4 separate regions of the Homo sapiens genome follow, and regions 2, 3 and 4 are each linked to region 1. The links are contacts of gene promoters, found by promoter capture Hi-C in human tissues and cell types (Jung and others, 2019). All regions are on one chromosome and are shown on one strand. The core of a region is centred on a gene start or on the middle of the fragment in contact, and the rest is flanking DNA. Distances in the headings are between cores, read along the strand shown. Region 1 holds the start of SLCO4A1 (solute carrier organic anion transporter family member 4A1). Region 2 holds the start of SLC17A9 (solute carrier family 17 member 9). Region 3 overlaps DIDO1 (death inducer-obliterator 1). Region 4 has its middle 18 kb from the start of BHLHE23.

Region 1 (3,440 bases), core at 27-2,526:
TGGGTCTCGTGGCCTCGTGTCTGCTTCCAGAAGTGGAGGGCGGCCTGGGACGGCGGGAGCCCTGAGGACACCACCGGGGGGGTCCCGGGACCTGATACGAGTGGGCAGGAGCCCCAAGCCCTGGAGGAAGGAAAACCATTTCATAAATAACTGCATGGGGTTGTGGGCCTTTTCTCACAAGCCGCAGCACCTCCTTCGTCTCTCCACGGTGAACCCGCCCGCCACGCTATGCCACCAGGCCAGGTCCTGCAGCACCGCCTCCGTGGCTAGGACTTCCTCACCAGCCTGGGGCCGTGAGGTGGTCATTTCCCCCCTTACCTGACTTATCTCAGGATTCACACACACACACTTGACTTTCGGAAACTTCTTTTAAATTAATTTCACTGACACTAAAAGGGAAGCTTTGTGGAGTGTGATTGTGGTTACCTGTTAATACTTGGCAACAATTATGAGCCCTGATATGAGCCAACTTCTTCCGTCTTATCCCCTTTGAGGACGCTCTGTTATCGCCCCCATTTTGCAAACGAGGAAACTGAGGCTCGGAGGCCTGGAGCAATGTGTTCCAGGACAGACGGCAGGAAGCCGGGGTAGGAATTCCAACAGGGAGTTCCCTCTGTGGAAGGGAACGTGGCTGGCACCTCCCTGCCTTCCACCCTCAGAGCTAGTGTGAAAAAGAAGACGGGGTTATGGAAAAGGCAACGGGCTGGAGATTCCCCGGATTCCCAGGCTAGGGCGCCGGTCTCACTGTGCGCGCAGGTGGGGCGCGTGCCAGAACAGGGCCTGGGGGTCAGGCCGAGACCGGCGGGCACCTTCACCAGGGCCGCCCGTGGCGTTCCCCCAGCCCCTCTGCCGCGGGCCCCACGTGGCCCCGACCCTGCGGCAGCCTTTCGGAAGGGCGGAGCTGAAAAACGGCCGCTTGGCTCCACTCGGCCCCACAGCGCCCAGGAGCGAATCCCGAGTCCGTTCGGAACCGCCTCGCCGCGTGGCCTGGGGCGGCGTCGCCACCGCGCGTTCTCGGCCTCCCGGCTGCGGCAGCGATGCCGGTCCTTGGAGCTGGAGCGGGGAGTCCAGGAGGCGGCAGCGCTCCGGAGAGAGACGCCCTGGTCCCCCGCCGCGCGTTCCCGCCTCTGTGCCCTGGGGGGGAGGAGGGGGCGGTCGCCGCTGCCATTGGCCGTGGGGGGTGAGGCGGGCCCCGCGCAGGAAACCCCGCCCCTCCCTCTGCGGCGGGGGCGGCCCCAGCGGATGAATGAAGCGGCGCGTGGCTGCCGGGGAGGCCAGAGCGTGGAGCGCTGCGCGGCGCGGCGGCCGGGCCCTCGAGACGGGGACGGTGAGTGCGCGGGGAGCGGGGAGCTGGCGCGGGTGCACAGGGCCCGACCTGCTGGCGTAGGAGCGCGGCAGGTGCCGCCATCGTGGGCAGGGGCTGGAGCGCCGGGGGGATGCGCGCGGGGGCGGGAGGCCTGGGCACCGGCCGAGCGCCCCGAGCCTCTCCGCGGGGGAGGGCAGGACCGAGCGGAATCGGAGGCCAAATTCGCCGCTTCCCGCCGCCGGCTGCGCAGGTAGGAGCTCCCGAGTCGCCCGCAGGAGGACCGAGGCGAAGGGGCCCCACGCTGCAGCGGGTGCCGGGGGGAAGCGGGTGAGCAGGGGCTGCGGCCCTGGCAGGGACTGTCGGAGTGGCCGGGGCAGGTGACCTGGGCAGGTGGCCCGGAGCGCGCGCAGGCGCAGGCCCCACAGATCCAGCTGGGGACGAACGCGCCTCCGCGGAGCTCCAGAGTTGCGGAGTCACCCACCTGCGGCGGCCGCTGCTGCCGAGTCAAGGAGGAAACCTTCATGCACGGAAGTTTCTCGGGGGCGGCCGGGCTTTGTTCGCGCCAGAGGCGCTCGAGACATCTCCGGGAGGGGAGCGCGGGCGGAGCGCACAGGGCTAGTTTCCAGCAGCGGCGGCGCCCCTTTCCCTGCCCCACCACGCGACGTCCTGGCCGTGGCTTGGGGGGACCCGGGCGCCCTCCAGGTGCAGGCAGAGGGTCGGGTGCCCTCGCGTTGCTGTTGGGCTCCCCTGACCAGGGAGGATGGAAAGGAAGGAGCAGGCAGGCTTAGCTGCCCTAGACCGGCCCTAGACCGGGAACCTGGAAGCAGATCTGACTTCCACTTCCAAGGGAGAAACCGCCTCCCGCACTGGCGCCCCGAGGGGAGAGAGAAGCCCAGCTAGGTTTCCGCGTGGTCCGCGTGGTTGGTGAACCCTCAGGCTGGGGGGTGCCCCGCTTGGCGTGCAAGGCCCTCTTTGGAGCTGCCGTGGGACCTGGCTATGCGTCCTGTTTCTGTCTGGAGGCGGCTGGAACGCGGTAGTTTTCCACATCCATGCAACCAGCTTGTCAGCTGCTGCTCCTCAGCTGTGGTTTTTGGAACTTGGGTTACCTCCATCTAATCAGAAACTGGCTCTGCAGAGCCCGGTGTCAGCGACGTTTTCATTCCCAGCAGCGGGAGCAAATGGATCTCAGAGGACAGCTCCTTGGCCTTAGCCGGCTCCGCTTGTGAATCTGGTAATAATGACAAGGACAGTGACAGCAGGGGTTAGGTGTTGAGTGCTGGAATGTGCCGGGCATGGTACCCCTGCTTTGAGCATCGTCTCATTCAGTCCCTAGCAACCCCACGAGGTGGCCATTATCACTCCCACTTTATAGATGAGTAAACTGAGGCACCAAGAGGTTAAGTGATTGACTCTAGGCCACACAGCTTGTAAGTGCTGAAGAGGTCTGACTCCAGGTTTGTCTGATCCAGGCTTGGGCTCCTGTTTTACGACTCTGTTCTTAAAGAGGCAAAAGGCGACTGCAGGGTCAGGCCGGAGACCCAGAACAGCGTCCCAAGAGCTGGGCCTGCGGTTACTGGGCCAGAGTGTCTGTTCTGGGTTGTCAGTGATCGCAGGACACCAGTAGGATGTTGCTCGGGCCGAGACCACACAGCCCGACTTCCCTCTGTGCTGCTGGAGGGAGCCAGGGCAGAGGCCGGCCACTCGGTGAGACCTGGACGCTGACCACAGCCAGGCTGCCCTGACCGCCCTCAGCAGGCTGTGTCCTGCCTTCCTGCTGGGCAAGGTCAGCAGGTGGTGCCTGGAAAATTCTTCATGAGGGAGCTTCCCTCCCGAGTGGCCGTGACCTAATCTGTAGCTCACTGGGTGTGGCCCCTAAAGCAGGTGCTGGGCAAGTCCCTCCCATGGTGGAGAGCTGGCTGGGCACGTGGCAGGCAGGGCAGGCTGGGCCAGGTGAAGGGTGGCCAGGTGGATGGACATGCTCTCCTTGCTAGACTAAGCCCAGAGAGGCCGGCTCTCCTCGGGGCTCTGATGGGCCCCTTGGCTTGACCAAGCCCCATTGCAGTTTTGGCTCCAGGTCGGTCTGACTTCCAAATGGCAAAATTTTTCTCAGCCCATTGTAGAATGAAAAGTTAAC
Region 2 (3,169 bases), core at 501-3,000, 310 kb after region 1:
ATACGTAGTGAGGTGTGGATTTGCTTTAGGAAAATCTCTAGCATCGTCTCCCTATAGCAGCACTTGAAATAAACAAGAAGTTAGGTGGGCCAGGCCCAACAAGAGGGAGGCACGCAGCCTTCCAGAAGCAGAGGCCAGTGGGTGCTGGCTGTGACTGCCCTGTCCGCAAGGTCACCCTGTGTCCTTGAAAACCCAGGTGTTGACTGTCTATTGTCCCTACATAATTTTTCACCTTAGGCCTCAAAGATGCTTGGGTGCGGGGCAGCTCTCAGAATCCACCAGAAGCGTGGAGAGCCTCCATCTGGCCACTACCAGCACCCAGCTTTATAATGTCCCTGTGAGATGGCCCCTTCACCCACCCAGCCATCCCTGCATGGCCCGTTTCTTCAGCTCATCCAGCCTTCACTCAGGTGTCCAGGGGTGCCTCCTCAGCCCAACCTATTTGAAGTAACACCCCTTCCCTACCCCTTTCACTACTTTGATTTTTGTCTACCTGCCCCAGAACATCAGCTCCAGGAGGAAGGGGACTTTGGGTAACCAGATGGCAAATGTCTGCTGCAGCATGATCACAGATCTCGGTAGGAAATCACCATCACAGAGTGAATGGAAGCGAATCACCTCAAAGAGGGTGCTGTTGACAGCGATACGTTTAGCAACAGTTTCCAAACTTCCTGGCTATGGGCTAGGGCTGTTTGGGGCAATAAACCTCTCTCTGCCACCATCTTTTCACCTACCCTACGTCAGGATGGATGAAAGTATGACCTTGCTTTTCAGGGTGCCCGTGTCTTTCTGTTCAGAGGGCCCTGGGAGCAGGCCCTGCAGTGCAGTGGGTTGGGCTGTTGGAGACCTGAGGGCTAGGGGGAGGGAGGGGGTAAATGTGGGTCTGTTCTAAGTGCAAGGCCCTGCCTTAGACGTGTCTCCCTCGGCCCCTGGGTGGTGGCTGCTGCGTGGAGGATGGACTGAGGTGGGCCCTAGTGGAGGTGGGGGCAACGCCTGAGGAGCAGGCCCTGCCGCCTCCTGGGGAAAGGCTGCATGGTTGAGGCCTTCCCCTGCTGGCTTCATCCTTGGCATGGCAGCAGGAGCACACAGAGTGGGGGCCCCACCCCGTCACCCCTGCCCCCGAGCCCAGAACCTGGCCTGTGATGGGTCCTCAGGACACCTTTTGTCCAGGAACCCAGGGGCCAATGACAACCTTCACAGGCATCTGCTGAGAAGACATGGGCCAGCGCTGGATTTGTCCAGCTCTCCCAGGCTTGGTCCAAGGGCTCAGGAGTGGACCCATCCCTGCCCCGAAAGATCCATTTTAAAAATCAGTGACCCTGTACTTTTACTCTCTTTGCACTTGGTTAAGACTTTATCCCTGATTTTATTTGATCGGTAAGGCAGGGACTGCCATCATTCCCCATTTTATAGACAGAGGACAGACGGCCCCATGGCTCCGTGTCGTGTCCAAGGGATGGGCTGGCACCTCTTGGACCAGGCTTACCACCAGGGCCCTTCTCTGAAGCCCCAGTCTGACCGGCCTGCTGCTGGGAATCCCCCTCTGCCCCCACACTAACCTCTGCTGGGGCTGAGCCAGGGCGCGTCGGACAGTCAGGGCGACCCAGCCAGGGCGACCGTTGGCCCCGCTCCTATGGGGCAGCAGGGACCGACGTCAGCAGGGTGGGGCGGGCACCCGAGTGGTATGCCCCGCCCTGCCCCGCCTGCCCGCCCTGGTGGCCGTCTGGGGGCGACAAGTCCTGAGAGAACCAGACGGAAGCGCGCTGGGACTGACACGTGGACTTGGGCGGTGCTGCCCGGGTGGGTCAGCCTGGGCTGGGAGGCAGCCCCGGGACACAGCTGTGCCCACGCCGTCTGAGCACCCCAAGCCCGATGCAGCCACCCCCAGACGAGGCCCGCAGGGACATGGCCGGGGACACCCAGTGGTCCAGGTGTGGCGGGGGTGAGGGGAGGGGGGGTGGGAGCGGTGGAGATGGGGCCGTGGGGAGGGAGCTGAGATACTGCCACGTGGGACGATGCTAGGTGGGGAGGGCTGAGCTGGGCGGGCTCCTCTGGCTGTGGGGCCCCCTGTGTTCCTTGTGGGAGGTGGAAGGAAGTGAGTGCCCTGTCCTTCCTCCCTGCCATGAGATTCCAGGACCGGACCTGGCAAGTGCCCTATCCCAGCCAGTGTTCCTGGGGCTCTTCCAGGCAGGGCTATGTTCCCCAGGCCAGGGGCATTGTCCTGGACAGTCAGGAGGCATACCCCTCGCCAGGTGGAACCACCCTGTGTATGCATGACCCTGACAAGCAGGCGCCAGGACAGTCAGGAGGCCAGGTAGGGGGCACGGGCTGGAGCCTGCAGCTGGACGGGGTTGGGGGGGGTCCTGCCACCACGTGCCAGCTGTGTGCTGAGGACGAGCTCCCCGCTGGCTTCAGCTCTCGGAGCATTTGGTGGTGGGGAGAAGCAGGGCCTGGGCAGGTCGCCTGGCCACCAGCACTGCTGCCTGTAGGAGGCTCCCTGGGCAGGTGACGCCTCAGAAACCGGGCGAGATGGTGACCGCGGGCCATTGGTCAGCTGGGGAGGGCCTCTGCCAGGGAGCTCCTGAGAGCAGCCCCCACACTGCTGAACCCCTTGGCTCTGGGTCTTGGGCTGAGGCCTTAAGTGGCTGGACCCTGGGCCTAGACTCAGGCCCTGTGGGTTCCAGAGCAGTCTCCTGCCTGCACTGAGTCCCCAGGGTACCTACCCTGACCATGGCAAGGTAATGGCACCTTCTGGCCCCACCAGTTCCCAGCTGTATGAGGGCTGAGGACCCTAGAAGTGCTGGGAAGAGTTGTAGGAAGGCCCAAAGGGGCAGTGCCACCATCGGATGTTGGCACCCAGATGAAGGGAGCGCTGGCTGCATGGGAAAAGCTGGCAGCCCAGATCACAGCCCTGTCAGGCGCCAATTAGAGGGGAGGGCTGCCCTCAGCGGGCCCTGCCCCTTGCTCTCTTCCTCTTCCCCCACCCACGTTCATCCAGGCCTGCCGGGCAGGGCCAGCTCCCCAGGGATTCAGGGCCTCCTCACTGGCGGCTGGTTTGAGTGGCTCCGCCTTCACTACGTCCCTCCCAGGCTCGATGTTTAAAAAGGAGCCCTTGCCGCAGCCTTCACTACGTCCCTCCCAGGCTCGATGTTTAAAAAGGAGCCCTTGC
Region 3 (3,314 bases), core at 759-3,258, 260 kb after region 1:
TCAGAGAAGGGCAAGCAGCAACTCCAGGCAACCCAGGAAAAAACCCCACTGCAGAAACACAGGGCTCTGTCAGGGTACGAGCCTCCCCTACACGCTGCTGGGCCCCCTGGGGGCAGCAGTGGTGGTGACCTGGTCACACCGCACAGCACTGATGCCTGAGAGCCAGGGGTCCCCTGCCCCTCCCCACACCTCTCTGCCCCTTGGTCGCAGTGCTGTCTCCTTTAGCTCCCACATTCTGGGGGCCTGCCCAGGCCACTGGCCCAGATGAAACTGTTGCTGCCGGGTCTGGGTTTCAGCCAACTGCAGAATGAAGCAGGTCGTCGTCGTGCACAGGGATCAGCAGCACACTCTAATTGGCCAATTTCCCCCAAAGCAGAAGGCTGGCTGGCTTGGGTGCTACAGCGCCTCTGGCCACTGGGTGGCACCAGGGCCTGAGCAGAGACGGGGAGGAGAAAATCAGGCCCCCACTGGAGGATGGTGCTACTCCGCTCCTCTCTGCAGAACCCATCCAATTGCCCCAGTGGAAGTTTTAGCAGGACAGGGATTAAAATATGGGGCAAGAGACCAAGTCTGCTCAGTTCTGGACTGTCCAGAGGCCCCCATGTAGCAACCTTATGTGCTGGATGGCTCCCCACAGGGAAAGGAACTGGTTATAAAAATCACTAAAATAAACACCACACGCCCTCACGTAGGTGTTGACAATGAAGTGGCCTGCCCTGTCGCGGTACTGCTGGCTGGTTTAGGGAAGCTGGGGCACTCAGACCTCCACTGGTCTCCCACGGTGTCCTGAATCCTGCCTATCACCATCCGCTACAGCTCTAAGGGCTGTTTCTATGCTATGCACCTGAAAACAGACTCAACAGTCAGTGAAGGAACTGTGGAAGTAAATTCTGTTCACTGTGACGTCAGGCCTATTTGCAGCCCTCAGTGAGGCGTGTGTACAACAATGCAGTTTCCTGCTTTACCTGTTTCTTCACTCCAAGATTGCCCCTAGTGGGAACAATCAAGGTGGCAGCGGCAAGAGAAAATGTTCTGCTTTTGCTCCTCTCAACATGCTAGAATGTGTTCACATGAATTCGCCTTTTATAAGTAGTTACTAGTTTGCTTTCATGTTGCGGGGAAACAGTTACTTCCCAAATACAGCAGGCAGACTACATCGCAGACGCTCCTCAGAGGAGACCATCACTACAGCCAGGACGCCCTTGCAGGGTCCACAGCTAGACTGCCGTGTTTTGGAATACTCAAAGCTTTCCTTGGTCAGTTTTCTTACTAATACCCGCTACTTGAGTGCCTTCCAACTTAATGGAGAGGTGTGTAATTCTCCCTAAGAAACTCGTGTGATGAGGGCCACGTGGACAGATGGACGTTCCACTCAACTGCAATTTCAGTTGTGCCCAGCTGCACATGGTGTGTGCCTGGCTGCCAAGCCCATTTGGGAGCAGAGCTGCTGCTCTTCCCAAGATCTCCCACACGAGTAATTTAACCTTTATCTAAGTTGTTTACTACTTAAACCAACATGTTAGGGGCATGTTAAAATTAGTCCACAACCCTCCCCTGTAATCCCTCCAGTCCTAAAGGGCCATACTCAGTATAAAGCCCCTAGCTGACAGCACCAAGCAGGTCAGTTGAGGATAAAGCCAGTTACCTTAAGCTCTTCTTGCCGAACTCTTCCAGGTTTGCGGCAAATGAAAGTTGCCGCAACCTTCATTTAAATAAGTAGCAAAAATTCTTGTCAATATTCTAAGTTACTTCTCTAACTTTTAGAAGCTAAGAATATAACTATGTGTATGTTGATGTGTTAACAGAAAAAAAAAAAAAAAAACCTAGTATTATTTTACAACTTTATACAAATCTACCTGAAACTTGTGTACCACATTGGAGGAATTGTAGCAGGCGTCTTCAGAGCTGACCTCTGCACTCTGTGACACCGAGAATGCCGAGGAGGCTTTCCCGAGTATTCATCTTTAGACTATGAGTAGATCCACAGCTCCGAAAGGTCCTATGAAGGTCACTGAAGAGGTGGTGAATTCAGGGGGACCGATCCTGCTGGAAACTTCCATCCCTGCACCCCACCTGCCCAAGGTGGCTGAAGCATAAGCACAAAGGGGCACCTGAGGGATGGACAGGGGCACCACGGGACGGTGCTGATGTGGGACTTCACCGTGCAGGGTCACGGTTACGGAGGTGTGAAACCTTTCCCTGATGTAATTTTCTCAATGGCAGGCTGCTTTTTAAGTTTATAAAAAGTAAAACACTTAAAAATAACAAAAGAATGTCATTACTGACAGCCAAGAAACTTCCAGTTATATGGATAACGTAAAAAAACAACTATCAAGCTATATTCTTTCTCAGAACAAATTCTGATTTTTCTAATTGGGAGGAAGAGATTGGTGGACACGTAGAGTCTGATGACTCCCAGTCTCGTTTTATTGCCGCTGACAACTCTGGAGGAGACAGATAAAAAAAGAGCTCACGCGACCAGTGAAACAAGCCACCCTCCTCTCCCGGCTTTAAATTCCTGCAAAACACTCTTAGGTTCTAGAATCCCCCCATGTATTTTTTATTAATGAAAACTGAGACTGGGTCCTCTTAGGATTTCAGTGAAATGTGCTTCTGGAGCCCACACCATGAGTTATCCTTGTGAACGGTGTTCTCCGTCCATTTCACCCCACCAGGGCCATCTCTGTGGCAGCACGTGGGAACAAGAGGCAGTGCTTCCACCTGGGCACCATGCTTAACACAGCATCTGGATTTGGGTTTACAAACTGGCAACGTTTTCCATTTTAATTCCAACGGTTAGATGAAACGAACTGTAGAATCTGCTTTGCAGTCAAAATCTGTTCAGATCCTCAGTGTTTAAGTCACTTAATGAGCCATTTAGGGAGACAAAATACTAGAAATTGCACCTATCAAATACCATCTCAAAATTTTGAGAATTCCATCTCAAAATTCTAGTCAGTCAGGTACATCTCAGAAAAACATTTCCAACTGACTTCATGCCTCGACAATAATGGGAGGTGAACAGTGGAAATAAAGAGAAAAAAATGGAATAAGAATTTATAAAACCACAAAAGAAACATCATGATCTTTGAGAGAAGTTATGTGCACCAAATGTTTACGTAAGCTAAATAAACTGTATATATAAGAAACAATTTTTAAAAACAAATGGGAGGAACAAGGTGAGGCTGTGAAGGACCTACTGATATCTTAGCAGGGGGCACAGCCTCCTTCTAGCAATGGCAGAGTGTCTGTGCACACCAGGCCTCACCTGTTGGACAGGAACCCCCAGGTCAACCGAGTGCCATGGGAAGGAC
Region 4 (3,651 bases), core at 757-3,256, 350 kb after region 1:
CTTGCAGGGATGCCCCAGTCTCCTATCCCAGCCTGCACCCTCCTGGGGGCCACGCCAGCATGGTGGGGCGAGAGGGTTCTGCAGAGAGAGCCTGGGGGCACGTTTGGGATCTTAGCCCTCTAGTGCCCTTCCATTTTCTACTGGGGCAAGGAGCGTGAGGCTCCAGCATCCCCTCCAGAACGTTCTTGTGGAAGCTCCGCTTTGTTTCAGAACAATGGAAGCTTAACATAAATATGCAGAGGAAATGTGACGTCACAGTTTTTATTGGGACCTGGAATCACTCCTGTGATAGAGTCATTACCTGGGTTAAGCTCATTAAGTTAATTAACGTGAGCGTTATTATTGCTGATAAAAGATAGTCTCAGGGGATTGGTAGAGCCAGCGTAGCATGCAGGGGTGGGCACAGGGGGGATGGGGATGGGGGACTCAGCAGAGACAGCTGGGGGACCCGGGGACCCCTGCTAAAGCTGCAAAACACAATCACATTCTCACACCCGGGCTGCCCCCACCCTGAGGACACGGGTGAACACGGAGCTCGGGGGACACGACCATCCAGCGTCATGAAAGCCAGGCGTGCGAGCCAACTACTTGTACCTGCAGGACAGGAACAGTGAGGATAGAGCGATGGGCACAGACCTCACCCCGAGGACAGAGGTCATTGTCACCAAAGACCCCCGAGAGAGGACGGCGATTGGTCTTGAAGGGTCGATGATGGACATTCCTTCGTATGTGGCCCCTCTTTTGGGATGTTCGCTTCTAACTCCAGAGCTCGGAGACTCATCTGAAGGTTGAATTTAGACCCCATCATTATTTTTACATGTGTGGAAGGATCTTTGGGTGGTTTTCTTTATATTTTATATTATTTTATTTTATTCTATTTTATTTTTTTGAAACTGAGTCTCCCTTTGTTGCCCAGGCTGGAGTGCAGTGACACCATCTCATCTCACTGCAACCTCCACCTCTCAGGTTCAAGTGATTCTCTTGCCTCAGCCTCCTGAGTAGCTGGGACTACAGGTGTGCGCCACCACGCCTAGCTACTTTTTGTATTTTTTAGTAGAGACGGGGTTTCACCATGTTGGCCAGGCTGGTCTCCAACTCCCGGTCTCAAGTTATCCTCCTACCTGGGCCTCCCAAAGTGCTGGGATTACAGGCATGAGCCACTGTACCCAGCCTTGGTGGTTTTCTTTAAATCCTTGTCAGTGAACTATCTGAGTGTGGTGGTTTTAAAATGTCCCCCATTTTTGTGGACAATCCTCCCTCAAAAGCAGGTTTTCTTAAGTGTGAGCCAGACTTAGCAACTGGCTTCTCATGAATAAAATGTGGTGGAAGGGGCCGGGTGCGGTGGCTCATGCCTGTAATCCCAGCACTTTGGGAGGCCAAGGTGGGAAGATCACCGGAGGTCAGGAGTTGGAGACCAGCTTGGCCAACATGGTGAAACCTTGTCTCTACTAAAAATTCAAAAATATTAGTTGGACATGGTGGCGCATGCCTGTAATCCCCGCTACTTGGGAGGCTGAGACAGGAGAATCACTTGAACCTGGGAGGCGGAGGTTGCAGTGAGCCGAGATCGCACCACTGCACTCCAGCCTGGGTGACAGAGCGAGACTCCATCTCAAAAAAAAAAAAAGAAAAACAAAGAAGTGGTGGAAGGGACAGTGTGACTTCCAAGGTGAGGCGCTGCCCGCTTTGGGAGTCCACGTGGCGAGGAACAGAGGCCGCCTGCCTGCAGCCGCGGAAACCCTCCTAGAAGTGGATCCTTCAGATGAGCCATGGCCAGCCCCTCGACAGCAACCTCCTGGGAAAAACGTCCAGCTAAGCCACACCCCAACTGGAAGTGGGTCCTTCAGATGACCGGAGCCACGGCCAGCACCTCAACAGCAACCTCCTGTGAAAACCACCCAGCTAAGCTGCACCCCAATTCCTGTTCCTCCAATACTGTGGTCAGAGGGGCTCAAAGCAGAATGAGTCCATCTTGAGTAGGGAGTGGGTAAAATGAGGCTCAGACCTGCTGTGCTGCACTCCCAGGGGTGAGGCATTCGGAGTCACAGGATGAGATTGGAGGTCGGCAGGACTGGTATCACAAGATGCAGGTCATAAAGACCCTGCTGGTAAACAGGATGTGGTAGAGATGCCGGCCAAAACGACCAAAACCAAGACGGTGAGAAGAGTGGCCTCTGCTCACCCGCCCTGCTCATTACACACTAATTATAATAGGTTAGCGGCTAAAAGACGCTCCTGCTAGTGCCATGGCAGTTTACAGATGCCACGGCAACATCAGGAAGTTACGCTATATGGTCCAAAAAGGGGAGGAACCCTCAGTTCTGGGAATTGCCCACCCCTTTCCCAGAGAACTCATCAATAATCCACCCCTTGCTTAGCATATAATCAAGAAATACGTGTAAGTGACCTTAGTCAGCAGCCCATGCGGTGGCTCTGCCTATGGAGTCCCCGTTCTTTTGTTCTTTTACTTTCCTAATTTACTTTCACTTTATGGACTCGCCGCAAATTCTTTCTTGCATGAGACCCAAAAACCCTTTCTTGGGGTCTGGATCGGGACCCCTTTCCCTGCTCGTCTTCTCTGCATCAGCCCAGACCCCACACCTGTTTCCTGGCGTGGACATGGAGGACTGAGGCCATCCTCCCAGCCACTGACACACGCCCCTTCTGGGGTGGCCCGGCTGGCATTGCCTTCTCCTAACGTTCCCGGGGTGGCCCGGCTGGCATTGCCTTCTCCTAACGTTCCCGGGGTGGCCCGGCTGGCATTGCCTTCTCCTAACGTTCCCGGGGTGGCCCGGCTGGCATTGCCTTCTCCTAACGTTCCCGGGGTGGCCCGGCTGGCATTGCCTTCTCCTAACGTTCCCGGGGTGGCCCGGCTGGCATTGCCTTCTCCTAACGTTCCCGGGGTGGCCCGGCTGGCATTGCCTTCTCCTAATGTTCCCGGGGTGGCCCGGCTGGCATTGCCTTCTCCTAACGTTCCCGGGGTGGCCCGGCTGGCATTGCCTTCTCCTAACGTTCCCGGGGTGGCCCGGCTGGCATTGCCTTCTCCTAACGTTCCCGGGGTGGCCCGGCTGGCATTGCCTTCTCCTAACGTTCCTGGGGTGGCCCGGCTGGCATTGCCTTCTCCTAACGTTCCTGGGGTGGCCTCCAAGGTGCTTGTGACTTTCAGGAGAGCCCAGCAAGGCCACCCTCCGTGCTCCTTGGTCTGAGCATCCTGAGGTGGAGGGTGCATGACCTTCTGTTCAAGAATGCAAATGCCTGGACCAGGAGAGCGTCGGTGTGTGCCAGAGAGCCGCCTCCCTGCATACTTTCCACCCCAGGCAGGGGCTGCCTCTATGGGGCCAGCCGGGAGACTTGCCTGCAGCTGCCTTGGGCCCTGAGTTCCGGCTCCTCCGAAAGCAGCAGGAGGCCCTGGGTCTCCTTCACCCGCCACCACCCCATCTGCAAGACGGGAACGAGAGCCTGGCTTCGTGGCTTGCACTGCGGAGTGCTTAGGACCTGACCCACCCAATCTCCACAGCTCTTCACAGCCTGTGAACGTGGTAAAACGCGTGATTAGGTTAAGGGTCCCAGCGGGGAGTGCGCCGGCTTGTGGGCACTTAGTACCTGAGCCCACCCAACCTCCAACAACTCCACAACGGCGGTTCCTGAGCT

Evidence for each region. The method cuts DNA at HindIII sites, captures the fragments that hold promoters and counts their contacts. A contact is called where the count stands out against the background at its distance.
Region 2: a contact is called between the fragment with the promoter of SLC17A9 here and the fragment with the promoter of SLCO4A1 in region 1, in 3 of the 25 tissues and cell types used here (dorsolateral prefrontal cortex, lymphoblastoid cells and spleen).
Region 3: a contact is called between a fragment that was not itself captured here and the fragment with the promoter of SLCO4A1 in region 1, in 2 of the 25 tissues and cell types used here (lymphoblastoid cells and spleen).
Region 4: a contact is called between a fragment that was not itself captured here and the fragment with the promoter of SLCO4A1 in region 1, in 1 of the 25 tissues and cell types used here (lymphoblastoid cells).

What each region holds. Positions count from the first base shown.
Region 1 is chr20:62,641,227-62,644,666 of GRCh38, forward strand. It overlaps SLCO4A1 (solute carrier organic anion transporter family member 4A1), which reads left to right and starts at 1,277. Exons shown (of 12, transcript NM_016354.4): 1 at 1,277-1,327. LOC124904949 (a long non-coding RNA gene) reads right to left here and starts at 1,111. Exons shown (of 2, transcript XR_007067711.1): 1 at 427-1,111; 2 at 1-120. RefSeq lists a silencer at 765-1,714. The HindIII fragment of the contact is 11,606 bases long and covers 1-3,440 here.
Region 2 is chr20:62,950,959-62,954,127 of GRCh38, forward strand. It overlaps SLC17A9 (solute carrier family 17 member 9), which reads left to right and starts at 1,751. Exons shown (of 13, transcript NM_022082.4): 1 at 1,751-1,931. The coding sequence starts at 1,873. RefSeq lists an enhancer at 1,161-1,990 and silencers at 1,542-1,861, 1,872-1,971. The HindIII fragment of the contact is 20,012 bases long and covers 1-3,169 here.
Region 3 is chr20:62,900,013-62,903,326 of GRCh38, forward strand. The region is part of intron 6 of DIDO1 (death inducer-obliterator 1); the gene reads right to left. Among named protein-coding and RNA genes, the nearest start is that of SNORA117, 19 kb to the left of the region's middle. RefSeq lists enhancers at 1-779, 109-358. The HindIII fragment of the contact is 5,054 bases long and covers 1-3,314 here.
Region 4 is chr20:62,987,123-62,990,773 of GRCh38, forward strand. No RefSeq gene overlaps it. Among named protein-coding and RNA genes, the nearest start is that of BHLHE23, 18 kb to the right of the region's middle. The HindIII fragment of the contact is 8,596 bases long and covers 1-3,651 here.